Regions from separate parts of the Homo sapiens genome. Here region 2 is linked to region 1. Evidence: promoter capture Hi-C in 16 types of primary human blood cells and fetal thymus (Javierre and others, 2016). All regions are on one chromosome and are shown on one strand. The core of a region is centred on a gene start or on the middle of the fragment in contact, and the rest is flanking DNA. Distances in the headings are between cores, read along the strand shown.

The links. Contacts are between HindIII fragments. The CHiCAGO score rates a contact against its expected background, and 5 or more counts as called.
Region 2: a fragment that was not itself captured here is called in contact with the fragment with the promoter of MTRF1 in region 1 in 1 of 17 cell types (megakaryocytes); the score reaches 5.2 in megakaryocytes.

The regions. Positions count from the first base shown.
Region 1 is chr13:41,260,621-41,266,555 of GRCh38, forward strand. MTRF1 (mitochondrial translation release factor 1) reads right to left here and starts at 2,956. Exons shown (of 10, transcript NM_004294.4): 1 at 2,865-2,956; 2 at 1-295. The coding sequence starts at 287. RefSeq lists an enhancer at 2,374-2,874 and a silencer at 3,162-3,251. The HindIII fragment of the contact is 4,724 bases long and covers 1-4,491 here.
Region 2 is chr13:41,078,799-41,084,733 of GRCh38, forward strand. It overlaps WBP4 (WW domain binding protein 4), which reads left to right. Exons shown (of 10, transcript NM_007187.5): 9 at 1,848-2,011; 10 at 3,906-5,208. The coding sequence ends at 4,116. Among named protein-coding and RNA genes, the nearest start is that of MIR3168, 19 kb to the right of the region's middle. The HindIII fragment of the contact is 4,999 bases long and covers 181-5,179 here.

The sequences.
Region 1 (5,935 bases), core at 1,706-4,205:
ATATGCTGCAGACATTGCTCAAGTGTTTGGTACTCCTTACTCAGGTTCTCCATATATTTCTGTAGTGCTTTATGCTTCCAGAGCATCTTGGTGTCTTGATGGCAATATCTCCTGGACCAATTCTTACTTAACAGATGAAGAATGCAATTCCTGTTTTGTCTAAAAACTTGCAGCCTTGTATCAAGATGTATCTGTCTAAATTGATGAGAATGGAGCTGGATGTGACACTGGAGGTAACCATTAAGAGATGGATGTCTAAAAAGCCAAACACACAGGTGACGATTCATCTCAGCATCTGAAATACAATAAACACAGTCTTTAAAAAAAAATCATCTCTAAAGATACATGCATAATAAACCTGGAAGGAACATCAAGAAATCTTGTTTCATCTACTGCCTCAGCCAGCTCCACAGTCTTAAAATTCAACTGCCGGCTGGCAGCAGTGGCTCACGCCAGTAATCCCAGCACTTTGGGAGGCTGAGGCAGGCGGATCACCTGAGGGCAGGAGTTCGAGACCAGCCCAGCCAACATAGTGAAACACTGTCTCTACTAAAAATACAAAAATTATCCGGGCGTGGTGGCAGGCGCCTGTAATCCCAGCTACTCAGGAGTCTGAGGCAGGAGAATTGCCTGAACCCAGGAGGCAGAGGTTGCAGTGAGCCGAGATCATGCCATTGCACTCCAGCAAGGGGGACAATACCAAGACTTCGTCTCAAAAAAAAAAAAAATTCAGCTGCCTACAGAAAGAACATAATTCTTCAAATGTATGAATAACATATTAAAATAAATAAAAACAGCACTGCTTCCTACCTGTTCAACATATATAATTAACTGAAGCATATGAGTAGGAGTACAACTAACAAATATATCAATTGAATGAGTTAAGTCAGTTATTTTCTAGAAAGTATCTAGAATCTAGAATTGAGTGTGTAAACAAGCTCTTGAAAGCTATGAAAACATACAAACTTAAGGCGGTTCATAAAGTCATTTTCTAAAGTTTGAAGAAAATATTATTATCTTGTATAATTCTTTAACTTTAAGGATCTAGATATCCAAGGAAGTCAAGTAACTTAATCACGACTATTCAGTCGGCTGGATGGAGACAGAGCTGGTATTAGAATGTAAGTTGCCTGTTCAGGACTCAGTAATTTTCACTCTCAATTGTGCAATCACTTTTCAAAAATGCTTCCCGTTTAGCTGAGATCCTAAAGGAAGAAAAGTTCAAGTATTAATAGACCAAGAAAGTAGGGCTGGTGAAAAGCTCTACAGTTATATTAAATGGTGACAATTATATTAAGCAAGAAAGGCAAGGAACAAAATAGAATCTCAATTACATTTAAAAAATATTCTACAATATAAGGTATACATGTAAAAAAAAAAAAGCACATAGAGTATTTTTTAAAAAGAAAGTTAAATAAGAAACATACCAAAATGTGCCGAGCACAGTGGCTCACGCCTGTAATCCTACCACTTTGGGAGGCCGAGGCGGGCAGATCATCTGAGGTCAGGAGTTCGAGACCAGCCTGGCCAACATGGGAAAACCCCATCTCTACTAAAAATACCAAAAAAATTAGCTGAGCGTGATGGCACACACCTGTAGTCCTAGCTGCTCGGGAAGCTGAGGCAGGATAATCGCTTGAACCTGGGAGGCGAAGGTTGCAGTGAACTGAGATCGCACCACTGCAACCAGCGTGGGCGACAAAGCAACACGCTGTCTCAAAAAAAAAAAAAAAAAAAGAAACATACCAAAATGTTAATAAAATGATCTCTAGTTGTGAGATTATGAATACCTTTTGCTTGCTATTTTTTCTACTTTTCAGTGTTTTCCAAGTTTCTTGCACATGTAGCATGGAATACTTTCCTAATCATAAAAAAAGATTAGTTTAAAAAATTACAGGTTAGGTGAAATTGGCTGTGTACAATAATTTTCTGTTCTCCTCCCCTCCAACAGAGATAATCAAGAGCTAACAAAAGTACACAATGGTCTTACTGAGTAAGAAAGGGAGAATATAAAGTGTTCTAAGAAAACTCTAAGGTTCAAAGTTGAAATAAGGGTCAAGCCACGCACAGTAGCATGCACCTATTGTCCCAGCTACCCAGGAGACTGAGGCAGGAGGATCACTTGAGCCAAGGAGTTCAAGGCCAGCCTGGGCAACACAGTGAGACTCAACTCAAAAAAAGAAGGATCAACATTTATCAAAATCAAACTTTACTGTCTCCAGTGATCCTACTATGCTAGGAGGTGCATTGATATATTAGCTCATTTGTTCACTATAAGTCTGTTAACTTAGCATTATCACCTAGGAAATAAAATAGTCAGAATGGTCTTTAAAATATTCAGTTTCCAGAGTTCTACTGATAGATTTTAGGATACTGCATCACATTATTAAAAGAACTGTTGAAGAAAGCACCAATGGCCAGCTGTCACAAACGTTACACTCCACCACCCCCGTATTTCAAGCACGTTAGAGAAAGTGTATCCATTTGCTAACAGACAGAATAAAAGGATGACAAATATATGTTTGTACGAATACTTATTGCTAAAATTTCCATTTTAGGAACAGTAGTAGAATGCATAATTTTCAAGGTCATGAATCTCAACATTAAGGAAAACAAAACAAAACAAGATGTTTACTCTCCAAGGTTAACTACACCTGAGAACAGCACGACTTCTCCATTACCCATCACAGTAACAGTATTACTCTGATGCTTTGGGGAAAGTTCTGAGTGTAGGCAGGTCAGAAGCGACAGCCCGCGGGGCAGCAGCACGGGCAAACCATGCTGTGTAACTCAGTATATGGAGTGATTCCATAAAGAGGCAATACAGGAGGCGGCGGGGAAGATCAGGAAAGAACTGTGAGTACCTAAGAAAAAGAAGAATACACGTTAGCTCTCTTTACTGAGGTCGGAACCTTCCGAGACCCGCCACATTTCAGCCCGACAAACCCGAGATCACGTTCACTTCCTGGTTCACTTCTTCCGGGTTAACGCACGCTCCCGGCCCCTCCTCCGCCACTACCGCTCTCCGGAGGAGTTGTCCTCGAGCATGCCTAACAATGGACTAAAATGACAAAAATGAGCTAAATGAGAAAAATGACAAAACGAGAATGAAATTGTCATCAGACAACCGCCCCCGCGCCGTCCTTATCCAGAGCGTGAGCCCAGAGCGGGGATGGAGATGGTGGGAGGGAGGGAGGGAGGGAGGGGCCAAGGTGGGACTAAACTACAACTCCCAGAGCGCCCACCAAAGAATCCTGGGAGTTGTAGTTTACCTTGCGGCAGCCTCCAACCCCCTCCACTCACTATCCAGCCAAATGTGGAGTTTTTGGTTTTCACCGTTAACTGCAAACCTAGAAGAGAGATTCTTTACGATTCTGATTAAGAGATCAAGATTTAGAACACATTGCATGTGAAATTACAATAATTTCCTTATGTATTAGAAGCCCGTAAAGCACTGTTTTCCAATATTTAAAAAAAATAAAGACTCCTTTTACATCATCCACAAATGTAGAAGATTCTGCGTGTAATTTCTATACTTTCAGCTTCCATTGCTTCAGAAAATACCTAATGACTAAAGGATAATACAAATAAATTTATATTTTAAAAGTAGTAACAGCCCCAAAAGTTAGGAGACCGTGTATTTCCACATGTTAGTGATTTTATAATGTTCTTTGCACATGGGAATGTAGGGGCTCAACCTAGATTCATAGCTTATGAACCACTGATTAAGTGAAGAATGAAAACTCCAGTTAATAAACAATTGCAGGAAAATGCAAGCATATTGTCCTACTTTGACTAATCCAGTGGGATCCAGCCCTTGGCTATCGCAATTTACAGTCTTTCTATCTCCATGCCTCAATTTTTCTTCCTGAAAGAAAAGGCAAAAAATGTACCATATTACTGACTTTACAGAGTATTTTCTTAGATTATAATCACATACATAGATAGGAGAATTAGCTATATATGCAAAATAATATCTAACGTTTATAGCCAACTTCAAGGTACCTACTTCTATGTACTATGTACTAAATACTGTTCTAAATGGTTTTACCCTATTAATTCATTTAATTTTTACAACCTTAAAATACTTATTTTGCAGAGGAGAAAATTAAGGCACACAGAGCTAAAGTAACTACTCCAAGGTAAAAAACAGTAAGTGATAGAGCCAAGACTCAATTAAGGCAATGGCTTTAATGATCTGTGGCTCCTAAGCTCTGATATAGGGCCACCCTGCTCCAAAAAAGAAAAAACCTTCAATCATGTATTCAATAAATAGTGAACACCAGTTATGTGCTATTCACTATTCTAGTCATGAGGATTTAGCAATGAACAGAAAAGACAAAAACCTTTGCCCACATGGAGCTTATGTTCCAGTAGGGGAAAAGTTTCAAAGGGTCTACATAAAGTCATTCTCCTAAGTTATCCAAAAAGTTCTTTAATTATTTATTCTGATTTGTGCTTTCAGCTATATAACTTGAGTATTATATATAAAGCTTTATTCTCCTTAAAAAATTAGTCTTAGTCGGGCGTGGTGGTTCACGCCTGTAATCCTAGCACTTTGGGAGGCCGAGCCAGGTGGATCACCTGAGGTCAGGAGTTCGAAACCAGCCTGACCAACATGGAGAAACCCCATCTCTACTAAAAATACAAAATTAGCTGGGCGTGGTGGCTCATGCTTGTAATCCTAGCTACTCGGAGGCTGAGGCAGGAGAATCGCTTGAACCCAGGAGACAGAGGTGGCAGTGAGCCAAGATTGCACCATTGCACTCCAGCCTGGGCAACAAGAGTGAAACTCCGTCTCAAAAAAAAAAAAAAGTAGTCTTACTGCTATGGACTGAATTGTTTATATTCATAATCATGTGCATATTACTAATATTTATTTTTAAAATTCATATATTGAAGCCCTAACCCCTCCAATACATGTGTCTGTATTGGAGATAGGGCCTTTAAGGTGATTAAGGTCAGATGAGGTCGTAAGAGTAGAGCCCTGACATAATAGGATTAGTGCCTTTCTAAAAAGGCACCAGAGATCTTGCTCACTGTCCCTGCCCAAACAAAGAAGAGGTTACGTGAGTACACTGTGAGATGGTGGCCACCTACAAGCCAAGAGAAGAGGTATCAGACTGAAACCTACATTGCTGCCACCTTGATGTTAGACTTCCCAATCTCGCAAGAGGCTAAGAAACAAATTTCTGTTGTTTAGGCCACCCAGCTGGTGGTTTTTTGTTTTTTTGTTTTTTTGTTTTTTGAGGTGGAGTCTCGCTCTGTCACCAGGCTGGAGTGCAGTGGCCTGATCTTGGCTCACTGCAACTTCTGTCTCCCGGATTCAAGCAATTCTCCTGCCTCATCCTCCCAAGTAGCTGGGACTACAGGTGCACACCACCACGCCCAGCTAATTTTTGTATTTTTAGTAGAGATGGGGTTTCACCATGTTGGCCAGATGGTCTCAATCTCTTGACCTTGTGATCTGCCCACCTCAGCCTCCCAAAGTCCTGGGATTACAGGCATGAGCCACCACACCTGGCTTTTATTTTTTTTTAAATAGAGATGGGGGTCTCACTATGTTGACTAGGCTGGTCTCAAACTCCCAGCCTCCTAAAATCCTGGGATTACAGGTGTGAGCTACTGCACCTGGCCCAGTCTATGGTTTTTTGTTATGGCAGCCAAGTTATTCTGACTATGCAGAACAACTTAGACATTTAGAACTCGGGCTGGGCGTGGTGGCTCACGCCTGTAACCCCAGCACCTTGGGAGGCCAAGGCGGGTGGATCACTTGAGGCCAGGAGTTTGAGACCACCCTAGTCAACACGGTGAAACCCTATCTCTGCTAAAAATGCAAAAATTAGCCAAGCACAGTGGCACGCACCTGTAATCCCAGCTACTCAGGAGGCTGAGACATGAGACTCACTTGAACCTGGGAAGTAGAGGCTGCAGT
Region 2 (5,935 bases), core at 1,430-3,929, 180 kb before region 1:
CCTGGGCGACAAGAGTGAAACTCTGTCTCAAAAAAAGAAAAAGGAAAAGAAAAAAAAAATCCTAGAAGGAAATCTAGGAAAAACTCATCTGGTCATTGACGTAAGCAAAGAATTTACGACAAAGTCTTCAAAAGTAAACACAAAAATAAAAATAGACAAATGGGAGGGACTTAATTAAAAAGCTTATGCACAGCAAAAGAAACAATTAACAGGGTAAATAAACAGCCCACATATTGGGAAAAACTGTTTGCAAACTATGCATCCAACACAGGACTAATATCCAGAATCCGCAAGGGACTCAACAAGAAAAAAACAACTCCATTGAAAAGGGGGAAAAGGACATGAACAGGCATTTTTCAAAAGACACACAGGTGGCCAAAACACATGAATAATGCTCAACATCACTGATCATCAGAGAAATGCAAATGAAAATCACAAGGAGATACCATCTTACACCAGTCAGAAGGCTGTAATTAAAAAGTCAGAAAATGGCTGGATGCAGTGGCTCACACCTGTAATCCCAACACTTTGGGAGGCTGAGGCTGGCAGATACTTGAGGTCAGGAGTTCAAGACCAGCCTAACCAACATGGTGAAACCCCATCTCTACTAAAAATGCAAAAGAAATTAGCCGAGCATGGTGGCGCATGCAGGAGAATTGCTTGAACCTGGGAGGCAGAGGTTGCAGTAAGCCAAGATCATGCCACTGCCCTCCAGCCTGGGTGACAGAGCAAGACTCCGTCTCAAAAAAAAAAAAAAAAAAAAATCAGAAAACAACAGATACTGGCAAGGATGCAGAGAAAGGGAAACACTTATACACTTACTGAGAATGTATGTTGGTATAACCTTTATAGAAAACATTTCTCAGAGAACTAAAAGCAGAACTGTTATTCAATCCAGCAGTCCCACTTCTGAGTATCTACCCAAAGGAAAAGAAATCATTAAACAGAAAAGATACTTGCACTCATATATTTGTAGCAGCATTGTTCACAATAGCAAAAAGTAAATCAACCTAAGTGTCCGTCAACGGAGGATTGGATAAAAAAAATGCGGTATATATACACACGCACACACACCATGGAATACTACTCAGCCATAAAAAATGAAATGATAGCTTTTGCAGCTATGTGAATGGAACTGGAGGCCATTAACCTAAGTGAAATAACTCAAAGTCAAATACTACATGTTCTCACTTATAAGTGGGAGCTAAACAGTGGGCACACATGGACATACAGAATGGACTAATAGACAGTGGAGACCATAAAAGGTGGGAGGGTGGGAGGGAGGTGAGTTGAACATGTGTCTATTGGGTTTGTTCACTGTTCAGGTTATAGGTACACTAAAAGCCCGTACTTCACCATGACATAATATATACATGTAAGAAATACGCATTTGTGCCCCCTAAGTTATTTTTTAAAAGATAAATTATAGGAAAAGGAAAAAAATTACAAAATACAGGTAAACAAGGACAAACTCCCTATAATCTTGCCGCCTCCCAGAAGAATTCAACAGAGCCACAATTATAAAGGGAGTCACTGTTGGGTATGCAAGTAAAGCAAGAAAGCAGAAGAGAGAAGTTAAGAGAGCCCTGTTTATATGTCCTTAATTGTAGAACTTAAGACATTAAGGTGGTGATTTAGGGAGCCTTTGTCATGGTATATCAACATTTCAGACATGGAAAACCTAATCAAGCAGTAAAGTTCTATGTATATTTATTGTGTTATGTGCAGATTTGAGTTAGTGAATTATTGTTTATAAATCTATAACAATACCTTTAAAAGCCTTAAATTTTATTTTTGTCTTGGTAGTTTTGCTTGAACTGTATTATTTCTTGGCTTTTACATTTCAGGAAAAAAATAAAAATAGTGATGGAGGAAGTGACCCAGAAACACAGAAAGAAAAAAGTATTCAGAAACAGAATTCATTAGGTTCAAATGAAGAAAAATCGAAAACTCTTAAGAAATCAAACCCATATGGAGAATGGCAAGAAATTAAACAAGAGGTTGAGTCTCAGTAAGTACCTGGAGCTTTAATCCCACTGTTATTACAAGTGATTTTACATCCCAGTACTTCCCTAAATTGCAGTAAGTAATTTCAAGGATGCTGTGCTTATTAAAAGTATAGCTTGAGGCCAGATGCACCCCTGTAATCCCAGCACTTTGGGAGGCTGAGGTGGGCGGATCACGAGGTCAAGAGATGAGACCATCCTGGCCAACATGGTGAAACCCTGTCTCTACTAAAAATACAAAAATTAGCTGGGTGTGGTGGCATGTAGCTGTGATCCCAGCTACTCAGGAGGTGGAGGCAGGAGAATCGCTTGAACCCAGGAGGTGGAGGTTGCAGTGAGCTGAAATCGCGCCACTGGACTCCAGCCTAGCAGCAGAGCAAGACTCCATCTCGAAAAAGAAAAAGTATAGCTTGGCTGGGTGAGGTGGCTCACGCCTGTAATCCCAGCACTTCAGGAGGCCAAGGCAGGCAGATCAACTGAGGTCAGGAGTTCGAGACCAGCCTGGCCAACATGGCAAAACTTTCTCTCTACCAAAAAAAAAAAACTTAGCAGGGAATAGTGGCACACATCATGTTCCCAGCTACTTGAGAGGCTGAGGTGGGAGGATTACTTGAGCCCAGGAGGTTGAGACTGCAGTGAGCCATGTTCACACCACTTCACTCCAGCCTGGGCAACAGAGTAGGACCTTGTCTCCAAAAAAAAAAAAAAAAAAAAAATGTAAAAACTAAATAGATAAGCAAATATTGCAGCAACTCAAGTATTACTCAGCAAAGTACATTTCTATAGGATTCAGTGTTGCTATTTAGTTTTATAACTTAAAACAGCCTATGATAACTGATAGCAAAGAAGGTCCTTGCTGGCCAGGCAGGTGCAGTGGCCCACGCCTATAAGCCCAGTACCTTGGGAGGCTAAGGCAGGAGGTTCACTTGAGCCCAGGAGTTGGAGGCTGCTTTGAGCTATGATGGCACCACTTCACTCCAGCCTGGGAGACAGAGCAAGACTCTGTCCTAAAAAGAAAAAATCCTTGGAATAGATTGCCTTCTGCAGAGCTCCATTCTCCAAATAGGATGATGTGTGTTTTTCAACAGGTTTTACGCTCTCAGCTACTTAAACATAACGATCTTTCCGGTCCATTTTCCAGAGTCTCATAGATGGGACTGATGGGTGTGATGTGACTAATTTACTCTTTCACAGACCAGTTGACTATCTAGGGAGTACGGTACTGTGATAGGCTCTTTTTAATCAGGTGCTGATATCAGGACCACTCAACTGATTATTTATAATTAATCATGTGGATGGTTGAAGGGCTAGTTCTTAGCAAAGGAGTGCTAGGCATACAGCTCCATTCAGTCTTCTACAATAGGAAAATGAGATCTCGACTCGCTGCAACCTCTGCCTCCCAGGCTGAAGTGATCCTCTCACCTCAGCCTCTCGAGTAGCTGGGACTGTAGGCACATGACACCATGCCCAGATAATTTTTGTATTTTTTGTAGCAATGGGGTTTTGCCATGTTACCCAGGCGCATCTCGAAACTCCTGAGCTCAAGTGATCCTCCTGCCTCGGCCTCTCAAAGTGCTGGGATTACAAGATTGAGCCACCGCACCCAACCCCCTTATCCCTTTACTTGTACTGCTTATATATAAGCCCAAGCATTTTCTTAGATAATGCATCCTTTGTGCAACAGGAATAAATTAATACATAGAACTTCTCCCAGCATTTATCCACCTGAATAAGTGTTCAGTATCTTAAATAATATTGTAAAGTCAGTATTTTAAAGTAGTTCCTACTCCAAAATGAGCAACTTCTAATGTCATTAGAAAGCTGATCTTGGGGCATTGGTTATATGAAAACGTTTGTCTTACCCTGTCAAATAGAGTTTTACTTTAACTCTATTTCCAGTGAGGAGGTAGATTTGGAACTTCCAAGCACTGAAAATGAGTATGTATCAACTTCAGAAGCTGATGGTGGCGGAGAACCCAAAGTGGTATTTAAAGAAAAAACAGTCACTTCTCTTGGAGTTATGGCAGATGGAGTGGCCCCAGTCTTCAAAAAGAGAAGAACTGAAAATGGAAAATCTAGAAATTTAAGGCAACGAGGTGATGATCAATAGTTGCAGGAGAGCTTTTTGTACATGCTTTTAGGACAGAATGGAGACTTATACACCCAAAGTTTATCTGTGTTTGTTTGTAAGTATTATGATGCTAAAAATTTAGATTTATTCTAAATGTATTTGATGTGAATTAAAATAAATATTTTTTCATGTGAAATTTATTTTGGTTCCTAAAATGGAAGCCTACCACATTGCATTGTAATACAGTGTATTATGTTCAGTGTCTAAAAACTGCTAATTAAGTCATAATTTAAGATGCTATGTATCTGTTATTTAAAACATGGAGAAACAGGGCCTTTATTCCATTCATATTCATAAGAGCATATTTATCCTGCATTGAAAATGCATTACTTTTGCACATTGATATTAACTGTTGTCCAACAAATAAGTATCGGAGTACGTGAGAATATTCCCAGCCCAGTGATGATTTGGTTCTGAGGCTGATGTGAGAAAGCTGATGTAAAAAATGTATGCATATTGGCTTACCTTACTCAATTTAAAGTCAAAAGCCAACAGCCAGGAGCAGCTCAGGTACTTCAGATGTGCTTAATATGGAGTGAAAACTGGACCAGAGGTGGAAAGATGTATTTGCCCCAGTTCACTTCAAAGCAGCAAACGTTGTTTAAGCATTTTAGTTTGAACCAGGCATTGTGTTAGGAATCCAGGGATAAAGATGAATGAAATGTATTTCTGTTCTTCAGGAGTTCACATTCTAGCATATGCCTTTTTTCCCCCAGTCATGCACTCTTTTTAGCAGTCTTATATGTACTAGAAAAGATTTTTTAAAGTTTATTTAAAGCTGTGTAGATGAAGGCTTGATCTAAAATAGTATAAGGTCTCCAGCTTCAGTAAAAGTTTTTAGTGTTTACTTAAATTAGTAATTTCTCACTTTCTGTCTGGTTAAAATGTCTTAAAAAGTAGAATTTTCTTCTTTAATCCGTTTAGTAGTTACCTCCCTTTTACTTTTCAAATTCACAAAATTACATTTCTCATAAATTGTATAGTATTTAACTTATAATAGTTAATATTTGTCTTTTTAAGATGACTGTACATGTAAGAAAAAAGCTTATTAAAAACTTGATCAAAGAATAAGTTAAATATTGTTATTCTAATTCCAGTCAGAATCACCTTAGCATTGGTGAGATAGTATTTGGAGATTTGTCTTTGCATTTTTTCAGTCTACTTTTTGGGTATTTTATGAATGTGAAAGCCTAAACTTTCCCCTTCATTAGGAAGAGATACTTAATAATTCTTGATAGCCCATTCATCATCTAGGTGAGCAGTGCATTCTGGTGCTTTACTCTTCTCAGGTGGAAAAAATAATGGACTGTAAATGCAGTGGTCCTATACTTTACCCACATTTAGCTCTTAAAAAATACAAAATTGAAGGCATTTTTAAGATTAGACCTCATGTAAAGTTTCTCTTTGATGATTTTTAAAACAATCTCCTTTACTTTTGAAAGTAGTATTCTCAAAAACTGAAAGCAAGGTAAATCTCCGTAAACAGTATGGTTATAAAGATTGCTCAGAAAAGACTTGATAATAACAAACACCAATATTTTAGTAAATCAAGTCATGAAAAATAGTAATATTCCATCTGCTTTGGAGGGATAGAGAACATAACAGCTTTTAACTTACTTGGATGTTTTCATAAGTGTTTGATATCATTTCCACTATTACTTTTCGATCGATCGATAGATAGATAATGAAAGTAATTTTTTAATAAATATAAAAATCCAAATAATAGAGAAATAAGTTTTTAGAAAATCTCAGTAATCTGTCATCCCCTCTCCATGACCACTATGGGGTTTTCCGTTTT